Linked DNA regions of Homo sapiens: region 2 is linked to region 1. Evidence: promoter capture Hi-C in human tissues and cell types (Jung and others, 2019). All regions are on one chromosome and are shown on one strand. The core of a region is centred on a gene start or on the middle of the fragment in contact, and the rest is flanking DNA. Distances in the headings are between cores, read along the strand shown.

What was found. Contacts are between HindIII fragments. The study calls those that stand out against the background at their distance.
Region 2: a fragment that was not itself captured here is called in contact with the fragment with the promoter of SUSD2 in region 1 in 2 of the 25 tissues and cell types used here (aorta and pancreas).

Annotation. Positions count from the first base shown.
Region 1 is chr22:24,179,393-24,186,996 of GRCh38, reverse strand. It overlaps SUSD2 (sushi domain containing 2), which reads right to left and starts at 5,510. Exons shown (of 15, transcript NM_019601.4): 1 at 5,402-5,510; 2 at 3,730-3,940; 3 at 3,351-3,502; 4 at 2,694-2,861; 5 at 2,057-2,231; 6 at 1,702-1,903; 7 at 1,426-1,511; 8 at 1,068-1,336; 9 at 838-981; 10 at 582-740. The coding sequence starts at 5,477. RefSeq lists enhancers at 3,281-3,390, 3,461-3,540. The HindIII fragment of the contact is 36,064 bases long and covers 1-7,604 here.
Region 2 is chr22:24,286,668-24,293,633 of GRCh38, reverse strand. The region is part of intron 2 of SPECC1L (sperm antigen with calponin homology and coiled-coil domains 1 like); the gene reads right to left. All of the region lies in intron 2 of SPECC1L-ADORA2A (SPECC1L-ADORA2A readthrough (NMD candidate)), which reads right to left. Among named protein-coding and RNA genes, the nearest start is that of SPECC1L, 19 kb to the right of the region's middle. RefSeq lists a silencer at 1,219-1,513. The HindIII fragment of the contact is 4,170 bases long and covers 1,928-6,097 here.

The DNA of each region.
Region 1 (7,604 bases), core at 4,261-6,760:
GTGCAGCCCCTGCAGTGAATCCCCCATGTTGAGATGCACGTGTGGGTCCCTCTGGCCTTGGCTGCAGCAGCCACACCTGCCTGGGCACGTCCCGAGGGTCCCTGAACCCTCAGTGCTGACAGGCCCCTCCCAGGTCCTCACCCATCCCAACCAGGAATCCTTTCATTGACTCAGTTCCCTGAGGCAAGGGGTTCAGATGTGGAGCTACCACTTGCCAGGGGCATCCTTAACCGTGCAGGGCTGGAGACCTTGCAGTGGCTTTTGAGGACTGAGGGAGTGACAGGAGCACAGGAGTGGCTCTGTGCAGGCCAGCGGTGAACGTTACCAGGGTGAGTTCCCCTCCAGAAGGCTCCCGGGATCCTCCGTAGGGAGGACATGTCCCACCGTCACGGCCTCTCGGCTTTTGACCAGGTGGGTACGACGGGGGCACCTCGGTGGGTGTGAAGGCCTGAGGTCGGACCACCCAGGCCTCTAGCCAGGACTGGGAGAGGCATGAAGGCCCAGGGCTTCCCCTCAGTCTCCCTGCAGGAATGGGGAGGAGGTGAGGGCAGCCCGCAGCCTCGCGTGGCTGGACTGCTCACCTTTCAGGTCCATCCAGCTCTGCTCGGTGAAGCTCAGCACCTCCTGGTTCAGCAGCACCTCCAGACCTCCGGTCCTGTTGGCCAGCCTGACTTCCACCACATCTGAGTTGCCCTCCTGGACGGCCACTGCGGTCAGCCCAGTGCCACGGGTCTCCGTGCCTGCGGTGGTGGGAGCAGAACGGGAGCCACTTGGCTCCAGCCTCCCACCTTGGTTCTACCCCATGCCAACCAGAGCAGCCCCTAGCCCTGGCCTCACCGTTGGACATCGTCCCGGGCTGGGCCCGCGCCTGCACCCTCAGGTCGGTCAGCGCTGCCTCCAGCAGCACGTACTCTCCGCGCCCATTGAATGTGAAGTTGGTGCCGTCGAAGGTCACAAAGTGTGGGTCTCCGAAGGCGGAGGCTAGGGTGAGAGTGGAGGGTCACGTGGGGGTGCACCCCAGCCCAGCCCGATCTTTCCCAGGGTCTGGGGCACGGGATGGCACCCACCCAGTCTTGGGGGCCGGTAGTTGCGGCAGTCATTGGAGGGCCGCCGTTGCATGTAGCGGGGGCAGTCGGGTGCCCAGAGGCAGCAGTAATAGAAGCTGAGGACATCGTAGAGCCAGTGGGACATGCTGGGCACTCGGGGTGGCGTGCGGAACGGGGGTGCGCCCCAGTCATGGCCGCGGTCGGGAGTGCTGCCGCCGCTGGAGTCAGCTGTCAGGAGCTGCGTCCCGTCCGCTGTGTAGCAGCACTGCTGACCTGAGCCGTACCGGAGGCTGCAGGAGCCAGTGAGTCAGGGCCAGGCCACTGTTGGGAGCCCACCCCTGACCCCAATCCCCATACCGGCCCCAGCCTGGGGGCTCACCTGGCCTGCACAGAACGCACACAGTGCACGGCCCCGGGGTGGTAGGTGCACACGCTGCCCTGCTCCATGTCACAGCCGTAGTCCGTCTGCAGAGCAGCAGGTGGCTGTCACCCAGTGGCCTCGGGTTCTGTCATCCCCTCCCTGAGGCCAACCCTGCAGGGGTCCTGAGACCCCAGCCCCACCCTCCAGGACACCTCTGTCTGCCTCCCCTGGTGCTGTCCTCAGTGGGGAGGCTAACCCCTCATCCCCTCTCCTGGGCCCTGATGGGAGGCTCACGAAGAAGCGGCCGGAGTCAGCCCGGGCCTGGGTCAGGGTGCAGGGGCAGTCCGGCAGCTCCTCCAGGAAGTTGGGCAGCTGATCCTCCAGCTCCTCCCAGGCCTGGCACTGAGTTCGTGCCCAGGCCACAGGGTCCTCTCGGAAGTCATCGCTCAGGTGCCAGGCCAGTGCGTGGTCGTTGGTCCAGAGCGCCTGCACGTCCCTGTGGAGGTGATGATGCTGGAGCTGGGCCAGCCCACACCACCCCATGGTCGCCCCACTCTCCCCACCCCCAGCCTGGGCTGCCCAGGCAAGCATGATGGGCCTCGGGCGGCGAGGCCCTCCAGCCATCACCTGCACATCCATGCCTTCTTACTTCTGCCCTGCGTAATTTTTGCTGTCGATGATCCGAAGTGCACCCACTCGCCATCTCTGGTAGCTGGGAGGAGCAGGTTTTGGGGTGAAAGTGAAAGAGCCGGAGTTGGGGATGTGTGTGGCCAGGGGGTACAGGTACGACCACTTTGCAGTCCACTCCTGTGAGTAGGGCATTCCTGAGGGAGAGGATGCCTGGTTAGCCCTGGGGTTCCTTCGAGGCCTGGCCCCAGGCCTTGCCACCTACAGCAGCCTGACAGATGGGTGGATGGACCGCCAGGCGGTCCCCTTAGGAGGGGCTGTTCTAGCAGGGACCCCGGCTTGGGTGACCATCACCTCCTGCCACACTCCAGGATCCCTGTCCCTGCTGGAAGCTGGGCCCAGGGCCATGCCAGCCGTGCAGGGGTTCCTCATGAGCCTCCTCCCCTGGAGCCAGGCCCCATGAGCTGCCCCCTCCCACCTGCCTGACCCCCCTGACCTGCACTTCCCTCCATCCGAATCCTCAATCTCTGCCTGGAATTCCCTTCCCTCCTCAACCCCACCTGGAAACTCCCTTCCTCCTCCCACACAGCTGGGACCCCCTTTCTCCCCCTCTGGGGGCCCAAAGCTCTGATGCCACCCCAGCCCTCAGCTGGCCTCACCTGTCTCCTCGTAGCCCCACAGTTCGATGGTGATGGTCTGCGTGGGCAGCGACTTGACATGCCAGGTCAGGCTGAGGTTGCCTGAGGTGTTGGCGGTGCCGTAGTATTGCCAACGCGTCTCGTTCACCAACTCGCTCTTCTCCATCATTGACACTTTGTTGGGGTGCACTGGGCAGGGGAGGTGAGGGGTGAGTGAGGGCCTGGGCCCAGGGAAGCAGGGAGGAGGCCCTGAGGCTTCAAGGGCTGTGGGAGCCTCCAGGGCCAATGCATGGCAGCAGCTGGGTGATGGTCTCTCTGGCCCGCACAGCAGAAAAGGACGCTGAGGCCGCAGAGGCAGGGGCCTGCCCTCCCTCCACTGCCCACGCCTCTAGCCTCGACCTGGCTTCTCCCCTGCCCTGGCATGGCGGAGCTCAGTGGATAGGCACTGGCCCACCTCTCTAGGGACCCCTGCAGCTCCCACTCACTCTGGGCTGGGACCGCGGTCTGGATGCCAGGGAGTGGAAAGGAGCTGAAGGAACTCTCGCAGGCGGGCAGGCCTCCCAAGGGACTGGTTCAGCCAGAGAGGCAGGGCACGGACAGGCCAAGTCTCGGTGTGCATAGATTAGCGCTGGGGAAAGTCCCCGTGGGGGCAGGCTGTGGGCAGGGAGGAGGGCTCACCAGCCAGCCAGGTGCCCGCACGAGGGAAGGAGTGGCCGTTGTCCAGTGACACAGTGAAGGGGATGCGGCCGCTCTCATAGAGCAGAGGTGACACACAGTGCACTTGCCCGGAGGAGTCCACATGGCCGAGGGTCTGGATGCTGTCCTTAAACCTGTGGGCGTGGTGGTGGTGGGAGGGGCTGGGTCATTGCAGGCTGAGCCTCTCGATGGTCTGGGCCCCCAACCTCCCTGGGGAACCCAACCAGCCAGCTGTCCCTGTGCCCTCCTGCCTGTCCTGGGTCCGAGGGGCTCCACTCAGCCAGTCAGTGGGTCTGAGCCCTCAGCATGCACAGGGATGGGGGCGTGGGGCCCCAGTGCCCGGCCTCCTGGGCCTCCCAACCTGCAGATCACACTGGCGTCTGTGGGGCTGGACATCTTGAAGTGCCGCACCACAAAGTCCTTGCCGCCCATCATGGATCCTGAGTAGGGCAATATCTCCAGGCAGAAGTCCCGGAAATCCAAGCAGCAGGTGCCAAGGCCAGAGCACGTCGGGTGGCAGGAACATGGCCCGTCCAGGGCGCCACAGCGCATGGAGCAGCTCTCTTGGGCATCTGGAGGAGAGGATGCTGAGGGCCTGGCCCGGCGGGTACTGGACTGGCTGCCCCATGTGCAGGGCCTGTCTCTGTTTCTCCCACAGCCCATTAGACAGCAGCATCCCCAGGAGAACGCTGGCCAGGAACTGCACAGGCCACCAGGTGGACACAGTAGAAAGCCACAGGGCCCGTGGGGATGGGATGAATCTTAGCACAGACCATCTGGCTGTTGCCCTGACTGACGGGCTAGAATGCAGCGAGAAGAGGCAAAAAGCTGCATCCGCTCAGCCCTGCAGGGTCAGGAGAAGCCCCTGGGCATGACTGCCCTTCAGCCACCAAGTCCTCTATCCCACAGGCAGGGGTCCTCAGTGGGCCACGGTAGCTGGAGCCCTCGACCTCTCTTGGCTCCCCAGGGTGTCTGTGGTCAGCACGCCTTCTGGGGGCCCTGAAGCCTGCAGAAGAACCCCTCTTGCTTGCCTGGACTGGGGTGGGGGATATGGCTGCCAAGAGTCTCATTTGAGGCCTGGTAGGGAATGGTGCAGGGTCTGAACGTGACACTTCTCGCTCTCCCAGGGGCTGCAATTGAGACCCCAAAGAGAGCTCCGTGCTCAGGGCAGAAGGCCAGGGCCGCTCCCCTCCTTTCTGGGGAGAGGAGGGACATTTCAAGCAGGGGTCCCAGCAGTGGGGAAAGGGAAGTGGGGGTGCACACCACAAGGGGCTGTGGGCGCCGGGCCCAAAACTTCTCCTATGGGCCATAAGACCGGTGGGCAAGGCCATATTTCCAGGGGCTGGCATGAAGGAAGGGTTGCAGGGAGGGACTGGGGCAGGTGCATGCACCCAGGCTGGAATTGCACTTCCCTGGCCCTTCCCCATCCCCCATCAAAAGAGGCCAGTCGAGGGCCAGGCCTGGGCCTGAGCCACCCCGCTGGCCCCACTTCACCAAGTGCAGTGCCTGGCACTTAAAAGCAACAATAAATATGTACTGGCCAAGGATTTGGTGGCGCACAGGGGTCGGGGGAGGAGGCCGAGAGATGCTTGCAAGTGAGATAAGTGGCAAGAGGGTCGATGGGAAATGGGGTGGGGGACGGGGGGCAGCCTGGGACCAGTGTCCTGGTTCTGGAGTTCGGGGCTTTCCCTAGACTTTCCTGGATTCAGCCCCACCCTGATGAGGACCCACAATCCTGGCTCCCCCTCCGTGATCCCGCCCTGTCAGGGCTGGGGACACAGGCGGAGGCCTCTGCTGGTCTCCCCCGCCTCCCTCCTAGCTACCAGCAGGTTTAGGGTGGGCCCGGCTCAGACCTCCCATCCCCATGGGCTGCCCCTCCACATGGACCCTCAGAATTTCTTCCCATCACCCCTAGCACAGCCACAGATGGCCTGACAGATGGACAGAGGCTGAGCCCAGAGGGATGTCAGCCCAGGCCTGGCTGCAGACAGATGGACAGACAGACGGGGACACAGAAGGGCAGGGAGGCATACCTGCTGTGGGTCCGGGGCCCGGGCCGAGGGCTGTCGCCAGCAGCAGCAGGGCCCAGGGCAGGAGGGCTGGCTTCATGGTGCAGCCTGTGTCTGCAGCCAGCAGTGCAGTGGCTCCGAGGCGAGGCGGCCAGACAAGCTCACTCCCTGCTGGCCTGGCCCCGCCCGCCCTGCACTCTGCGGCACCGCCCCGCCCCGCCCCTCCCCGCCCCTCCCCACCCAGTCCCCTCTCAAAGTCCACAGGTGCCTGCGTGGACCAGCAAGGCCCAAGTTGCCCCGTTAGCACATTCCTGGCCCGCAGGCCTGGATCGGCCCTGGGACCCTGTGGGAGGGTGAGGAGGCCGGAGCCTCCAGCCACAGGACCTTTGGCAGGCGATGAGCCGGATGTCCAGAGGGCGAAGCTCAGACCCTGGGTCCCAGCCCCGCCTTGCATGCAGGGCGAGCCCGGCGGGGCTGAAGCAGAGGATGGGATGCGCAGGGTGAATAAGGCAGGGCTGTTTTAGCTCCAGGGAGGATTCCAGACTCTGTGGCCCTGACATAGACCTCCATCTCTAGCCCTCATCTTCCTGCAGGAAGGAGGTGCACCCAACTCATCCTCAGGGGGAGGCAGGAGCTGTTTGGGTCAGACACAGGCTGAGCCCTGGGGCGGAGGCAGCTCTGCAGGGGTCCCCTCTGGAGGGAGGAAGGAGGAAGGGGAGAGAAGGTACCCAAGCCCAGCGGGGGGCCCGGAAGGGAGACAGGGCCCATCCCCGGGCTCCAGAGATGCCACCACCCTGGGGAGCCTTGGCTGTCCCAGCCACACCTAATCCTGCCGCTAAGAGTTTGCATAATTTAATCAGTATTCACCTCCCTTCTTGAGCAGATGAGGAAACTGAAGCTCAGATGCGGATAGGCAAGGCCGAGCCAGGCCCTTGGTGGCTTCTGGGAGCCCCTGCAGCCAGGGCGGGTGGTAAGGGCTGCGGCCTGGGACTGGTCATTTGGACCCTGACACCTGGGCTGGACATCCAGACAGGCGGGTGGTCCTCTCCCAGCTGCAGCTTCTCAAGGTGTCCAAAAGGGACCCTTGCCACACTTGCAGGGAGTCAGAGGTGGCCCCAGGGCATGAGCTTAGGCCATCCGGTCTGTGATCTGCCCCAGCGCTTGCGGCCAGGCCAGCCCATTGTTCCCCGGCCTGTTCTCTCTCTTGCCTGGGTGGTGCCTGCTGGGAACCACAGGGTGTTGGCAGCCACCCGTGGCTCCAGAGAGGTGGCCCCTACTGAAAGTGTTAGAGGCGTGTGCTGGGGGACTTGGCTCCTGAGTCCCCACACAGAGCTGTTCCAGGGAAGCCACACCCGCATTTGATGTTTTCCCACCTCCCAAAGACATTTGGTGAGAGGCCCCCAAGACCTTCAGCTTCTCAGGGACTGTCTCCAGAGGGGAGAAAGTCCCTTAACCCACAATGGCGCTCAGGGCACCTCTGCAGGTGAGTGTCCTGTAAGTGGACGCTCAGGTGCTGAGCCAGGGAGAGCCTGTCTCCTGGCCCCAGGCTGGCGAGGGCATTCATCCCAGGCCCAGGGCTGAAGTTGCTCCCTACAGCACTGGGTGCAGGGGAGGGTCCGAGGTGTCCGTCCTCCTATAGGTGAGGCTCCAGGGAGGGGTGCTGGGGGATCGGCTGAGACAGTTCCCGGGAACTGGAGGAGGGAGAGCTGCTGCTTCCTGTTTTTGGCCTGGGCACCGTTGCTGCGCGTGTCTGGAGACAATGGAAGTGCGGTAGGGGCTAGGTGTGCAGTCTGGGAAGCTCCATACCCCAGGCCCTGCAGGGAGGGGGCGTCAGCTGAGTAACTGGGGCTGGCTTATCTCAGCCCCCCGAAAGGCGGGTTCAGCCAGACCCATCTGGGGCCACCAAGCCTCTGGTTCCAAAAGGGCGGTGCCCAGCCCTTTACGCCTTTCCTCCTGGGTGGTGGGCATGTCCAGCCCATGAGGGGCACAGGGCAGTGAGGAGGGTCCCCATCTCCATCCTGGACAGAGAGCCTGCTCCATGGGAGGTCCCAGGGCCAGGAGGGCCCCTGCGGTGCTGGGAGGGGAAGAGAGTTGTGAAGGGTGCCAGCTCTAGGGGCTTAATGCTCTGTGGGGCCTGCCTTAAAATCCTTAATCATTTTTGGTCAGACATGGTGGTGGCTCAGGCCTGTAATCCCAGCACTTTGGGAGGCCAAGGTGGGTGGATCAC
Region 2 (6,966 bases), core at 2,763-5,262, 110 kb before region 1:
TTTCCCTCGATCTAGAAACTGAGCTGCTCCTACCTTAATCTAAGAAAAAAAAAATCTGCTTTTCTAGGAGCTTCCAGAGGCTCATAATAAGTTCATGGTTATCTAATATTTTCAAGTCTTTTACCACACAAACTGCTGCTAAGCTACTGTTCTCTTTTTCCCCCCTTTTATTTTTTGTTTTGGAGATGGAGTCTCGCTCTGTCGCCAGGCTGGAGTACAGTGGCACGACCTCGGCTCACTGCAACCTCCGCCTCCCGGGTTCAAGCAATTCTCCTGCCTCAGCCTCCCGAGTAGCTGGGACTACAGGTGCGTACCACCACGCCCCGTTAATTTTTGTACTTGTAGTAGAGACGGGTTTAACTATGTTGGCCAGGATAGTCTCGATCTCCTGACCTCATGATTCGACTGCCTCGGCCTCCCAAAGTGCTGAGATTACAGGCATGAGCCACTGTGCCCAGCCTCCCCTAATGTTTTATTATGAAATTTTACAAACATGCAGAAATGTTGAAAAAACTGTATAGTAAGCAACATCCCACTTCTTTCCTTTTCTTCTTAATTTTTTTTCTCTATCATAGCACACTACAGCCTGAGCTCCGCCTCAGCCTCCCAAGTTGCTGGCATTACAGGAGCACACCACCATGCCCAGCTCATCCTCTTCATTGCTGTGTAATCTGTATTCTAAAAAATCTAAACCTTTATCTGTTAAAATTTTTATTTGGTAAATCAGCCCAAGGTTCCAGCCTTTAGGATACTTTTAAATTCTGACTTTGACTTGAAACCCATTAGTCTTCCTTCTAACAAGTGCTGTCTTCAATCTAAGTCACTTGGCCACCCAGTATTCTCATCTACAATAAAAAGGAAGTTGGACTCTAAGGCATCTCTACGACACCTTCTGACTCTTGTAATGTCAGATAATTCACATAATTGATGACGTTACATAGGACAAAGCAATGGTAAGGCTATGTGACACACCAAAAGAATCTCCTTCCGGGTCTCCCATACAGTGAGTAGAGAACTGAACTTAAAGGTCAAGAGACCTGAGTTCAAGCTCCAGTTCTGCCATCCAAGTTGTGTGACTCTGGACAAATCACTTAATCACTTTATGTATCTGCAAATCTGTTTCTTCTCCTATAAAAAAGAACTGATAAAATCTAGTTTATAGAGTTCTTGTAAAAAATAACATGTGTAAACCAACAAGAACATAACTCCTGATATCCCACTTCCAGAAGTTACTTCATCACAGATCAAAGGTCAAAGGAAAAATGGTGTAACAGTCCAAGGTTAGGGACAGCAACTTATTTCAGTGGTTCAGAAACCCCACCCTCACCAACCATCCACCCATGAAAAACACACCAATCAAGTTTCAGAAATATACCAAAAGGACATTGTAAATTTATCTTATTGTCATACTGCATCCAGAAGGATCCACCCTGATTAGAGGACAACACAAATTGTCCTGGATACCACAAGAGAGCTCCAAGGCCGTTCCCTGGCTGAGAAGCACCTTCAGCCCTGGCACAGGGTGGGACGGGAACCCCTCTTGGCAACTACAGGGACAGTCCCCAATCTCTCCATTCTGTAGTTACACCAGGATCTTGATTGCTGTCACTACTTTCTTCTTTCAGTTCCTCCTATTCACCTCCATTAGAATCTTTTCCCCTCAAATGTTTCCAAAATGTACTGCTATTTAAAACCATTTAAATTTCCTATTTAATTAATAATTCTCTGTGCTTATTCAAAAACAACAACAACAACAAAAAGAAAACACTACTATCCAGGAGACTGCCCAACCACGTATGATCAAATCTGTATCCTTCTATATCCCTGGGTAAGTTAACCTCTCTGAAATCTGTTTCTTCATTTTAAAAGGGGGCTGGTAATACTATGTACCTTCCTTATAAGGATGTTGAGAGGATTCAATGAAATAATGAGCCTAAAGTGGTTAGCAGGCTGGCAGCCCACAGTAAAGACCAGATAACATGAGCTATCATAATTTACAGAAGAATATATTGCATGCCCCATGTATGACTACTGCCTTATTAAAATAAAAGCAGCAATTCAAAAGACACTTTGTAAAAGAAACCCTTTATAAGGAATGACTAAAGATTGTTTTTACCTACTACTTATATTAGATTATATACCATGGCCCACAGATGTCAACAAACAACATTAGCTTATGGGTTTTTCCCACTGAAAATTACATATTATGAAAATACATAGTATGGAGTACACTGGAACAAAAATCAAGAGACCTGGATTGCAGTCCCAGGTCTGGCACCATCTATGTGACCTTGTGCAAGTCACCCACACTCTGTGAGCCTTGTTTATAAAGGAGAGTGGATTAGTAGCTTTCAGAAGTTCGAAAATTTCATTTCATAATCTGTACTTTCAGAACACGGAATCAAACAATTTAAGAGGAACTGCTTATTAATTATGACTTTTTATGCCTATCAATACCCACTGAAAATCCAAAAAGGGTTTTTAACCTAAGCAATCTAAATATATTTATCTCTCTTATTTCACAAACTTCATTTTCAAAATGTAGAGATCATATTAAAATTGTAAATTAAGAACAGACTTAAAACACTGAGAAGAAAGAATCACACAGTCAAGGGAAACTATAACTCAGGGAAAGGGCCACTTCAGAGTCAGAAAGTGAATGCTGCTAAATGAAGCAAAATCAACAATCGATTTGATAAAACATGTGTCTTACCAAAAGCCAATCAAAACTTTCAAAAGAAACCCAGTAAGAAGTGTTTAAATCAAATAAATCATAATGTAATGGATTGATCCTATATTCTTCAACATATACATAACCTTTCTTATGGTGAATTATGACACACATTCAGAAAGGTGCATTTTATGTACACATTTTAAAGACTTGGAGTGAGACTCCACTGAAAAAGTCAAGGACTACTAAGAGGGAAAGTCTGAGCCTTGTCATGTCAAAAAACTGCACATGTGCAAGTTGGCATATATTCAAGGTGCATGAAACAGACAGGAGGGAGAGAGAAGCAGGGGTAAGATGCCTTCAGATATGTGATTCTCTGCTCAGTCTGAATCCAGACAGAAGTCCAGTACTGCTCAAAAAACTTCAATGCTTACTGACTGAGGCACAACTTTTAAATGCTTGTTTTTATAAGACAGTACTTTCTTAATTTTTAAAGACAGATTTTATACTATGCCTAAAATTGTAACATGTAGTACATTTAACAGGGTAGTTTCCCATTTCCAGGAATCAACGATATCGGTTATGACTTATGAGGAAAGATGGCATCCAGATCTACCTCCCCTGTTTCTACCTCCAACTCCAGGACGAAAGAAACTGTACTCTATGTCCTCTCCCCACTCCAGGTAGGCACTCCCCCTTAAACAGCCTCATGGCCACGGAAGGAAAATGCAGCTCCTTTCTGCTTTAACCCAGTTCTTCTCACAATTCCCTCCTTTCTGCCTGTCCAACCAGTTAAGAAAGTCTCAAGGTGAATCCACAGGAGAAAGACTGCTCAGTCACGCCTGAGTGGCCACTTTAATCAAGATAAGGAGGTGATGGTGAGCAGGGCCAATGAATCCCCAGTGGAGGGATGGAGGCCAAGTCATGCTGCAGTGGAGTGGAATAAAAAGCTGAGTAGGAAAGAAAAGGATAAAGAACATCTCAAAAATGTGTGAAGGGGAGAGAGCCGGGGGTAATGAGGAGGCAGAGACACTTTGTTGATGTTGCCATTGTCGTTTAACTATGAAAGTAAGCTGCCTGGAAAGCACCAGCCAGACAATGTGGAAAGCCCACACTGCACAAATACTAGGGCACTGATTCTCATAATAACCCCACGTGGACAGAAAGGAAAAACAAACTTTGGTTAGAGAGGAAAGCAAGCACAACTACATATAGGATGCTAGACCAACCACAACTACACATAGGATGCTAAAAAAAAAAAAAAAGGAGGTAGTTATCAGTAATACCAACTCAAATGGCCACTAAACAGCACAACTGTATTCCCACTTGTTTTGGCCAACGAAAAGCTCACTCACACTAACTTATGATTTCTATTATTCTATGAGGCTTAACCCAAGAAAATAATTAGAAACGATTAGAAGCTTCCTGGATTTTTTTAAACTTAGAACCATGTAAGTCTTCTCCTTCTTTCTACTTTTTAAAAAATAATGAAATAAAAGTCCTAATCTTATGCCAAGACCTCTTCAGATCCATTTCTGGAGATCTTCTCTCACTTTAATGCAAGCTGCTGGAAAGGACGTTAAACTACTGACAACACTTAACATTCCAGACAAGTGACAAGCCTGGAAAAGGACAGCCTAAAAGAATGTCTGGCAACAGTACATAAGTGATTTTTCCAGATTTAGTCCAAAACACATTCGTTCCCAAAGTTCAAACTGCCAGAATGCAAAAAATTTTGCGTCTCCTCTGGCCACTACCTCCTTAGCCAAAGTTTCTGAATATTTACAAAAAGAAAACGTTTATTCAGGATCCTTTCAAACCACAGCTTTATGCTCAGACTCTTGGCAGGCAGTTTAAACTTGCACAATTTGGTATCGATAAAATTAACTGTCAGCCATAGTTTTAATTCAAAACATCAATCTATTTGTACATTTATAACAACCTCTGATGTGAAATACTAAATGAAACATTTCATTTTGCACTTCATTAATGGTTCAAATATAACAATGTAAAAAATCCTTTCTAAAAAGCTTATAATTGGCTGGGAGCAATGGCTCACGCCTGTAATCCCAGCACTTTGGGAGGCCAAGGCAGGCGGATCACAAGGTCAGGAGTTCAAGACCAGCCTGACCAACATGGTGAAAACCCGTCTCTACTAAAAGTACAAAAATTAGCCAAGTGTGGTGGCAGACACCTGTAATTCCAGCTACTGAGGAAGCTGAGGCAGGAGAATCGCTTGAACCCAGGAGGCAGAAGTTGCAGTGAGCCAAGATCACGCCATTGCACTCCAGCCTGGGCAACAGAGCAAGGATATGTCCAAAAAAAAAAAAAAAAAAAAAAAAAAAAAGCTTAAAATTTTGGATTTGAGAAGTCTTTCTAAACTAAATAAGTTAAAATAGAATTCAAATTCAGTGTAGTAAAAACTAAGTCTTTTTTTCAACAAGCATTTCACTGGTTAGGTTAAAAAGAAATTAATAAAAAATGCTAAGAAGTTCTTTTTCCCTGTGTCTAGTGAGTATAAAGCAGTGGTACTTAATGAGGGGTAGGGGACAATTTTGTACCCTAGGGGATATTTGGCACTTCCTGTACACATTTTTCGTTGTCACAACTGGGTGGGAGGCAAGGTGCTACAGACAGTGAGTGTGTAAGAGGCCAGGAATCCTAGTAAACTCCCTACAACACACTGGACAGCCCCCCACGACAAAGAATTATACAGCCTAAAATATCAATACAGTCAAGGCTGGGAAACCTTGGTATAAGGGGACTGGTTAAACTTGGAAGGAAGGGTTTGTCTTTCTGTAAATCGTTCCGTAAAAAAGGTCTCATGTGTACAGACAATCTGCTGAGAAAGCCACAGTTCTGGCAGCTGGCAGAGCTGAAAGAGAAGGGAAAATCTATGCACAGGGCCCTTGGATTTCCACCCATATTCCCCAGGAAAGGATACAGTTCCAGGAAGGGCTCTCTCTGATCTCCCGGAATGAAATCTGAGATGAACCACAGGGCCTTATTGCTTACCTGTACCTCCTTTTTGTAGTTTCCAGCTGGCCTGGCACAGACTGACAACCCCAAATGGATGGTCGAAATCCACTGTTCTCCAGTCCCTCTCAAACCTCACCGGCAAGAAGGAAAGAAACTAAACCCCGAGGGCCCATTATATTCCAGCGGGGTCCTAGGGATTCCACACTCATTCAGTTCCTTTACATCATAAGAAGTGGGTATTATAATATCAGATCCACTGTAAAAGGTGATCCCGAAGCAAATGGTAGAGCAGGAGTCTGAATAGGGGCACCTCCAACAGCCACATCCACCCCACCACAGCTCCCAGGGGTTTCTTTCTAATCTCAAGGGTGGCCTATACCCTGGGACTATAGGGGGCCTTGGTGTGCTAAATCTTCAGAGACATTTTTAAACGGTCAAGACGCCTCTTGGCGACTGGAAGAAGTTCCTGACCTCGCGGCATTCCCTCCTTCCCATCCCCACTACCACACCAATCCTATGCCAGCCTGTCTGTGTCAGGGAAGAAGTCCAGCTGGACAACTCTGGCAGCCTCCTGTCGCCCTCCCCTGCCAGCAATCCTTCTGTGCCACAGCTGTGTGTCCACACTCTAAAGCACACATCCCACCAGGCCACTCTCCTGTAAAATAATGCCTCACTGTCCCAGGCCAAATACCCCAGCGCCGATACCTGCTTCTTCAAATCCAGGCTCCAACCCATCCCTCCATCTCATTTCCATTTTACGTGCACACATAGTCACACACTCTCACATACCCACACTTTGGCTCCTACTGTTCCTACCCCTGAAAACCCCTTACCACTTTCCTCCCTGAGAAATAACTGCTCGTGCATCACTTCAGGACTCAGCTCCACTGCCGTGTCCTTAGTGATACCTTCCCTTGTCTCTAGTTGGTTGGCCCCCCATCCCTCTTACCTTTCTGGCCACAGCACTCACCTAAGTGTCTTTTATCCAGACAACATTTAGGGTATACTTAGACCAAAAAAGTCATCACTATTTATCTGAAATTCACATTTACTTATTTTTAATTTTCATTTTTTTGGAGACAGGGTCTCGCTTTGTAGCCCAGGCTGGAGTGCAGTGGCGCGATCTCAGCTCACTGTAACCTCTGCCTGCAGGGTTCAAATGATTCTTCTGCCTCAGCCTCTTACTTGAAAAACAGACAAAAGCAAAGCTATGATGTGAATAGCCTGAATTACTGCAAAAAGTACATGAATGTCAGAAGTAAATCCTAACTCTTACTAGATAGGTCAGTTAATCAGTGACACAGTTCACGGCCTGT